Linked DNA regions of Homo sapiens: region 2 is linked to region 1. Evidence: promoter capture Hi-C in human tissues and cell types (Jung and others, 2019). All regions are on one chromosome and are shown on one strand. Each heading gives the region's core, a stretch centred on a gene start or on the middle of the fragment in contact. The rest is flanking DNA. Distances are from core to core; before and after follow the strand shown. Region 1 holds the start of FEZ1 (fasciculation and elongation protein zeta 1). Region 2 overlaps LOC107984406 (a long non-coding RNA gene).

The links. The method cuts DNA at HindIII sites, captures the fragments that hold promoters and counts their contacts. A contact is called where the count stands out against the background at its distance.
Region 2: a fragment that was not itself captured here is called in contact with the fragment with the promoter of FEZ1 in region 1 in 2 of the 25 tissues and cell types used here (dorsolateral prefrontal cortex and hippocampus).

Annotation. Positions count from the first base shown.
Region 1 is chr11:125,494,385-125,497,983 of GRCh38, forward strand. It overlaps FEZ1 (fasciculation and elongation protein zeta 1), which reads right to left and starts at 1,881. Exons shown (of 10, transcript NM_005103.5): 1 at 1,737-1,881. LOC403312 (putative uncharacterized protein MGC39545) reads left to right here and starts at 830. Exons shown (of 2, transcript NR_164146.1): 1 at 830-1,231; 2 at 2,124-3,599. RefSeq lists enhancers at 1-436, 939-1,442, 1,443-1,944 and a silencer at 1,819-2,068. The HindIII fragment of the contact is 6,934 bases long and covers 1-3,599 here.
Region 2 is chr11:124,942,188-124,945,786 of GRCh38, forward strand. LOC107984406 (a long non-coding RNA gene) reads left to right here. Exons shown (of 2, transcript XR_001748429.3): 2 at 1,213-1,403. Among named protein-coding and RNA genes, the nearest start is that of HEPACAM, 7.9 kb to the left of the region's middle. The HindIII fragment of the contact is 2,603 bases long and covers 231-2,833 here.

The sequences.
Region 1 (3,599 bases), core at 631-3,130:
CTTTCATCCTTCAACTAAAATGTCTGAAACAACCTTATTTTCCATCCTGGCAAGCTTGCACCATCCTCATTCATAGCTCATCTGGGAGCCTTCTTTTCCTTAAAGTAGGATTAATACAAGCGATAGCTTATTCCCTTTAGACTTCCAAGATCAAAAATAAATACGTACATACATGAAAATGGCAGAAAGAAGGAACCATGGGAGGGTCGCCTTTTCTTTTTCTCTTTACCACAGAACAGAGCGCAGGACTATAGTCTGATTGTCCTACAATCTATTCCATTTATTTTCACTCCCAATAGATGGTGTAATTTGGAAAAGAAAAGACACTCACGGGGCTTAACAGAGACCCAGTAGGAAACGCATAAACGTCTCCCTGCAGCACAATGATGCACTCGCTGCATCTCGGGGCTGCGGTACAAATGCTCAGTCCCTGCTTTGCTGAGCTGACCCGAGTGGAGCGGAGCGGTGGAGATTTCACCACGCTAACCCCGCTGGGCCTCGGCACCTCCACACAAGCCCCATTCCATCTCCTTCTTCCCATCACTTGGTCCATAGATCAACTGATTCCGTGCCTCGTCCCCCATATCCGTCCCTAAAACCTACCCTGCACTGATCCACCTTCAGATTTCCCACTGCTCCTCCGCAGAACCCACCCAGTGTGCATGTTTGTGCACATTTTGACAGAAAAAGTATTTCGTTGCATATGGATCAGCAACCCCTTCGCGGTTCTGCTTGCTCCCCTCCCCCTCCTCCCGCTGCTCCATTCACCTCCATCTCAGATCCCCCTCCTCCCCCCAGTCCGGTGGGGTAAAGAAAGCCTCCTCCAGGCAGCACAATGGCTGGCACTCTGAGGAAGCCGGACTCATCCCGTGCAGGCCGCATACACACTCCACTGCCCTTCCGGCCAAACAAGCCCGGACACGGGAGAGGGATGAGAGTCGGGGATGCCTAGCGGCGAGGAGAGAAGGGATAGGCAAAAGGGAAGAAGAGCGGGCTGTGATACCTCCTCGACGCCGTCAAACACTGCTCCCCGCATTCCAGAGCCCGGGGCCCACCCGACGGCAGCGCGCCCCGCCACCGCGCAGCCGCCCCGGTCCCTTCTCCCGCCCGTCTGTAGTAAAACAATCGCTCTCCCGGCGTCTGCGGCCGCTGCCAGCGGTTCTGACACTGCAGGAATGCGCGGTCTGGGGAAGGCTCCGCACTCTGGGGAGGGGCACGAGCGGGGTCGGGGGTAAGTTTTTAGGGACAAAGATGATCTTGGGGCGTTTACGGTGACTGGACCAGATAACGGTCCCGGGACGAGGTACCGACCCACTGCCCCAGCGCGATCGGGCGGCGTTCCCTTCTTCCCCCAGCCCCCATACCTCGCCGCCCTGCCTTCACACGCGCGCACACACGCGGGCACACACACGCGGACACACACACACACACACACACACACACACACACACCAGGCCTGGCTGGAGGGCCGATGCTGAGATGATACTGGAAGTGCCCATCATCCCACATCTCCAGGGCCTGGCGCGGCGTCCCAGCTGCGCTCCCTGAAGGGCTGGGCAGGAAGGCGACGGCCTCCCGTTGTTCCTTTCTAATCCCAGAATGGGACCAGGTGAGGGGAGCTGCGGCGACCCCAGACCGTCCTGTCAGAGAATCCCGGGGCCTCCTTACCACCCCCACCAGACCCCACCCCCAGCAGTGAGTCGGGTCCTAACTAAAGTCAACCCCCGCGACGGCACCTGTGCGGGTCCTGGCGGAGGGAGGCGGATCCCGGGGCTCAGCCGGACACCCCCATCCACGGGCCGCGGGAGCGGCCGGAGCGCAGCGCAGCGCAGCGGAGAGCCAGCCAGCCAGCCAGCCAGCGAGCGCTCCCCGCGCAGCTCCGGCGGCGCCCGGCTCCGCTCCCGCCTCCACCCCACCCCTTCCCCGCGCTCGTGCCCGGGCTCCGGGGGCGCGCCCGCGCTCGGGCACCCACCCAACTGGCACGCGCGGGAGCTGGACGTCATCCCCTCGTTAACATTCATAGCCTTCCTCCGAGCACGTGGGCTTGCCTTTATTAATATTTATGCATTTCTGTTTCTCTCCTCTTTAACATTGGCCTTTCTGCTTCCCTCATGAATATTCAGAAACTCCAAGATGAAAGCGTGCAATAACTACCAATATGGATACCTCGCAAAGCCTGACACTAGTTTCTGGATAAAATGCAGGCGATGGCTGCTGGCGGATGCCGGCAGACACACTCAAAGACCCTTTTGGACTTTCCGAGTTTCCCATTCTCCTCTACTGGAGGCTGAGGCGGGCAGGCCCAGCGACGTCTCCCAGCTCCAACTGGGTTCGGACCTCAAGCCAAAAATGAGGAGGCCGGCAGGAGAGCTTTTCTCGCCCAAAGATGCTGGGTGGGAGCTGGATCCAGCTGAAAAATCTGAGTGAGAAGGTTTCAGGCCCAGGAGGACTTGAGATAATACAGGAAAATTCAAGAGGCTGAAATGAGAAGGGTCCCTGGAGTCTTGTGAAAAATTATTAATTTATCTTGTCTACTGTGCATAGGCCTGTGCTTATAGAAGTTGTCAATAAAAAATCTAATAATTCACGAATACACACAACTAAGAGCACAAGAACTGTAATTATCGAAGGAAGGCACTGGAAAAAGCATGTCGGCTTGGAGAACCCCAAGTACTTTTGTCTGATGGCAAAGTACCTCTGGGCTGAACTGAGGACTTCAACTGGAAGGGGCAGGGAGCGTCTCTTTTGCTCGTTTATGCATTCATTCCACAGACATTTCAACCATGAGAAGGATGGAAACAGGAATAATGTCCCAATGAGATGAGAAGAAGCGTTGGCCTATTTGCCTTTGTGGGAGCAATAGACAGAGGATGTCTTCCTGTAAGAAATCATAAGGCCAGGCACGGTGGCTCACACCTATAATCCCAACATGTTGGAAAGCTGAGGCAGGAGGATCACTTGAGGCCAGGAGTTCAAGACCAGCCTAGGCAACATAGTGAGACCCCATCTCTATAAAAAAAAAAAAATTAGCCAGGCATGGTGGGCCCATCCTGGTAGCCCATCCTGGTAGCCCCAGCTACACTGGAGGATGAGGTGGGAGGATCGCTTGAGCCCAAGAGGTTGAAGCTGCACTCCAGCCTGGGCGACAGCAAGACCTTGTCTCAAAAGTAAATAAATAAATAAATAAATCACAAAGAGTAGCTGGTTAAAAGATCCCTAGATCTCCTTTCTTGGGATCATGCCCAGTTTTGTGACCTTGGGTTAGTTAACTTCCCTGTGGCTCATTTCCTCATCTGTAAAATGAAGAAAATAATAGTGCCCGCCGGGCGCGGTGGCTCACGCCTGTAATCCCAGCACTTTGGGAGGCCGAGGCGGGCGGATCACGAGGTCAGGAGATCGAGACCATCCTGGCTAACACGGTGAAACCCCATCTCCACCAAAAATACAAAAAATCAGCTGTGCGTGGTGGCGGGCGCCTGTAGTCCCAATTACTCGGGAGGCTGAGAATGGCGTGCACCCAGGAGGCGGAGCTTGGAGTGAGCCGAGATTGCGCCACTGCACTCCAGCCTGGGTGACAGAGCGAGACTCCGACTCAAAAA
Region 2 (3,599 bases), core at 282-2,781, 550 kb before region 1:
GCCCTCTCTCCCCACTCCTTGGGCCTTCTAGTATTGGTGAAGGTATTTTCTTTCTTTCTTTCTTTCTTTCTTTCTTTCTTTTTTTTTTTTTTTTTTTGAGATGGAGTCTCACTCTGTCACCCAGGTTGGAGGGTTTCACCATCTTGGCCAGGCTGGTCTTGAACTCCTGACCTCGTGATCCACCCACCTCGGCCTCCCAAACTGCTGGGATTACAGGTATGAGCCACTGTGCCTGGCCTAGTGATGAAGTTATTTTCATTTTTATTTTTTGTTGTATAAATCTATATGCAAATGGTACTGGTGTTGTCTCTACCATAAGTTTGATTTCTCCTAATGGACAGAGGACGCAGGAGGCAAACACCAGCCAGAGAATTTGTAGAGCTGCAGCACATTGCCTGGGAAACAACGAGATTGTATGAGGCTTTGTGTTGAGAGGAGGCAGGGCCCAGCTCCTACAGCAAGCTCTGAATAAGAGACAGATTAGCTAGCTCCCTTCGGAACAAAACAAGCTTTCTGTATGCCTGGACAGTGAGGAATGGCCCTCCCCAAGAACATTTTCTTTTCTATTCGTTCTCTTTCTAAAGTTCTCCTAGGTGGCCCTACTCTGGGGGCCTCAGAAAAACATCAAATAGAAAGTAGAAATGGAGTCAAAAGGCTCCTTCATCCTGAAATTGGTTTTGCTGGCTGCAGATTTCTGTAAACATGAAGAGTTACTCAGATGAAAAGGGTTCTGCAGAGATATGGTGTCTCCACAAGATGTGGAGTTTGTTGGGAGAAATACATGATCCTGGGAGTGGCATGGGGTCCTGGGTAAATTTTGGAAGGGCAGCAAGGAGGGGCTCCCATTTCTCTGCTGAAAACAGGAGAACATCAAAGTCTTTTATACTGAGAGTAAATATTTGATTTTTGAATAGAATTCCGGCCTCCTCAGAAAGTGAGAGGGACTCAGGCTTGTGTCCATGGTTGCTAAACGTGCTCTATTCAGCCACTCTCCAGAGGAACAAAGAGGAGAAATTAATTGGTATTAAAGGGCTGGAAAGATCCAGCTTTTGCTGACCTATTTAAGATGCAGCAAGGACATTCTGGAGAATATCTCTGGAGTTCTGTTCTTGTAAAGCTTCAGTGCTTAAATACAAACAGGTTGAAAAATCATGGGGAAGCCACAAATTACACCCCAACTCATGAAAGCCTTCACTGTTTCCCTTCTCCTAGATCCTCAGATGGTGTCCACCCACCAACCGTGTCAGGGGAAGGATTCGCTGCCCTCTGCCGTCGTTCACCCTCCTACCAAAGAGGGAGGCTCAGAAATGGGAATCAGCTGGCCAGCATCTGATAATTGCCTACTGTGTGAAGAACACTCTATGTTCCAAACATTAATAAAAGTGGTGGGATGTGGAAGAGGAGGAAGGCGGCACATTCAAAAGTAATAGACGACACCATCCCTGGATCCCTGTCTAGGAGCTGAAATATATTATAGCTGGGAAGGCTGCACCTACATCTATAAGCAAGTATAATTGATAAAACATTTGCATTGCCCTTTACAAATTATCTTTTAGAATATTATTTTATTTAGCCTTCTAACAACGCTGTGCAGTGGGATTTTTTTTTCCATTTTTCAAGGAGGATCATGAAGCTTAGAGAGGTTAAATAACCTGCTCCAAGTCACACATTTTACAAGTTGGCACAGCCTAGACTCAACTGTGCTTCCTGTCTAATGTTCATAATGCTGTACCCCTGAAAGAGGTTTCCTTCACATTTGCAAGTTGGCACAGCTTAGACTCAGCTGTGCTTCCTGTCTAGTGTTCATAATGCTGTACCCCTGAAAGAGGTTGCCTTCAGCCAGGCCCAGAAGTAAAAACTAAGTAGGAAAAGGAGAGTTCTGAGACAAGATGTGAGAAAAGGGATCAGGCAGGTGACAGGACCATAAAAAAAAAAAAAAGCTTAGTAAGCAAGGGAAACTGGGCCCCCACAGGTTAGGCCAGGGACACTAAGAAGATAGATTTGTGATACACAGGATTCAATATGGGGAGGGACCACATTTCTTAAAAGGAGGCCCTAGCTAAGTTGTCAGCAGAGGTGTCTTGAAGACAGCCCCCAATTTTCCCCTTGTTGCAGTACTTACAGGATTTGGCTTTGTCTAGTTTAAAGATCCATGCCAAAGTCAGGCCTCCAAGATTCTGCATCTGGTTTGTGGCCCGACAAACTAAGGAATGTGATTTGTCAAGATCATTTGATTGTAAGTGACTGAAGTTCAACTGGAACTATCTGAAGCAAAAAGGGAAGAATTTCTTGCATTATGTAACAAAATTTTTCAGGGAGCAGGAATAATTGGAAATAAGACAGTATTTTATATCTGTGCTGTCAAATATAGTAGCCATTAATTAGCCCCGTGTGGCTAGTGGGACTGAGGAAATACATTATAAATTTCATTTAATTGTAATTAAACTTAACACATGTATCTAGTGGTTAACATATTGGACAGTGCAGCTTGTCATGCGGGCAGGAGAAGAAGACTCTTGATGGAACTAGTTAAAAAATAATCTTGGCAAAAGGCCATGGCTTAGGTCACATGCACAGCTCTGGATCAATCACTGTAGCAAGGAGACTAGAACACTATCCCAGGCTGGGCCATGTACTTAACCCCACAGTCACAGGTGGGGCCATTACTAGAAAAAGCGGGAGAAGGGATGCTGGGAAGACAAATCAAAATCTTCTAAGGTTTTATGACTCTATCTTGCTTCCTAAAAAAAAGTTAGCAAGCATTTACTGAAAGTCTATTATGCATGATATATTTTACATATGTAACATTACTTCTCACAAAACACAAACAAACCCTCAAGGGTCAATTGTTATTACATATGTTACATATCTAGAAATAAAGACTTGGATAATGTGACTTGACCACAGATAGTAAATTGCAGAACTGGAACATAAACCCAAGTTTAGCTCTAAAACCCCTTTCTCCACTGTAATATGCTATCCCCAAAGATTTGGGATATAGAGAATGTGACTATTAATAGTAGATAATTTAAATAATCATAGCTGAACACACACAAATGAATAACTTGGCTTTCTCCAAATAGTTATCTAGAAAGCCTTACTGCTTTTTTTAAAATAAAATCTATTTCCATTTATTTTTATTGTGGTAAAATATATAAAATATACAGTTTATCATTTTAACTTTTTAAGGTGTCCATTTCAGTGGGATTTACTACATTCACGTTGCTGTGCAGCCATGACACTCTCTTCTCCAGAACTTTTTCCTCTTATTTTCTTTTTTAAGGCCTCATGTCTTACACCTTTTAAGGGTTACATTTTTTAAATTCCTTTTTAAAAGTTGCTTTTAGAGCCTGCAACATATTTTTTAAGTATCTTTAATGATTACAATTTTTATACTTCAAGAGATTTTTTTTTAAAATCAAGCATAGAGTGAATAATATAAGTAACAAGGATAGATAAAATAATTTTGGCTAAAACTAGCTTTAAAGTAAAAGTCTCGCCTGACCAACATGGCGAAACCCTGACTCTACTAAATACAAAAAATTAGCTGGGTGTGGTGGTACATGCCTGTAATCCCAGCTACTCGGGAGGCTGAGGTG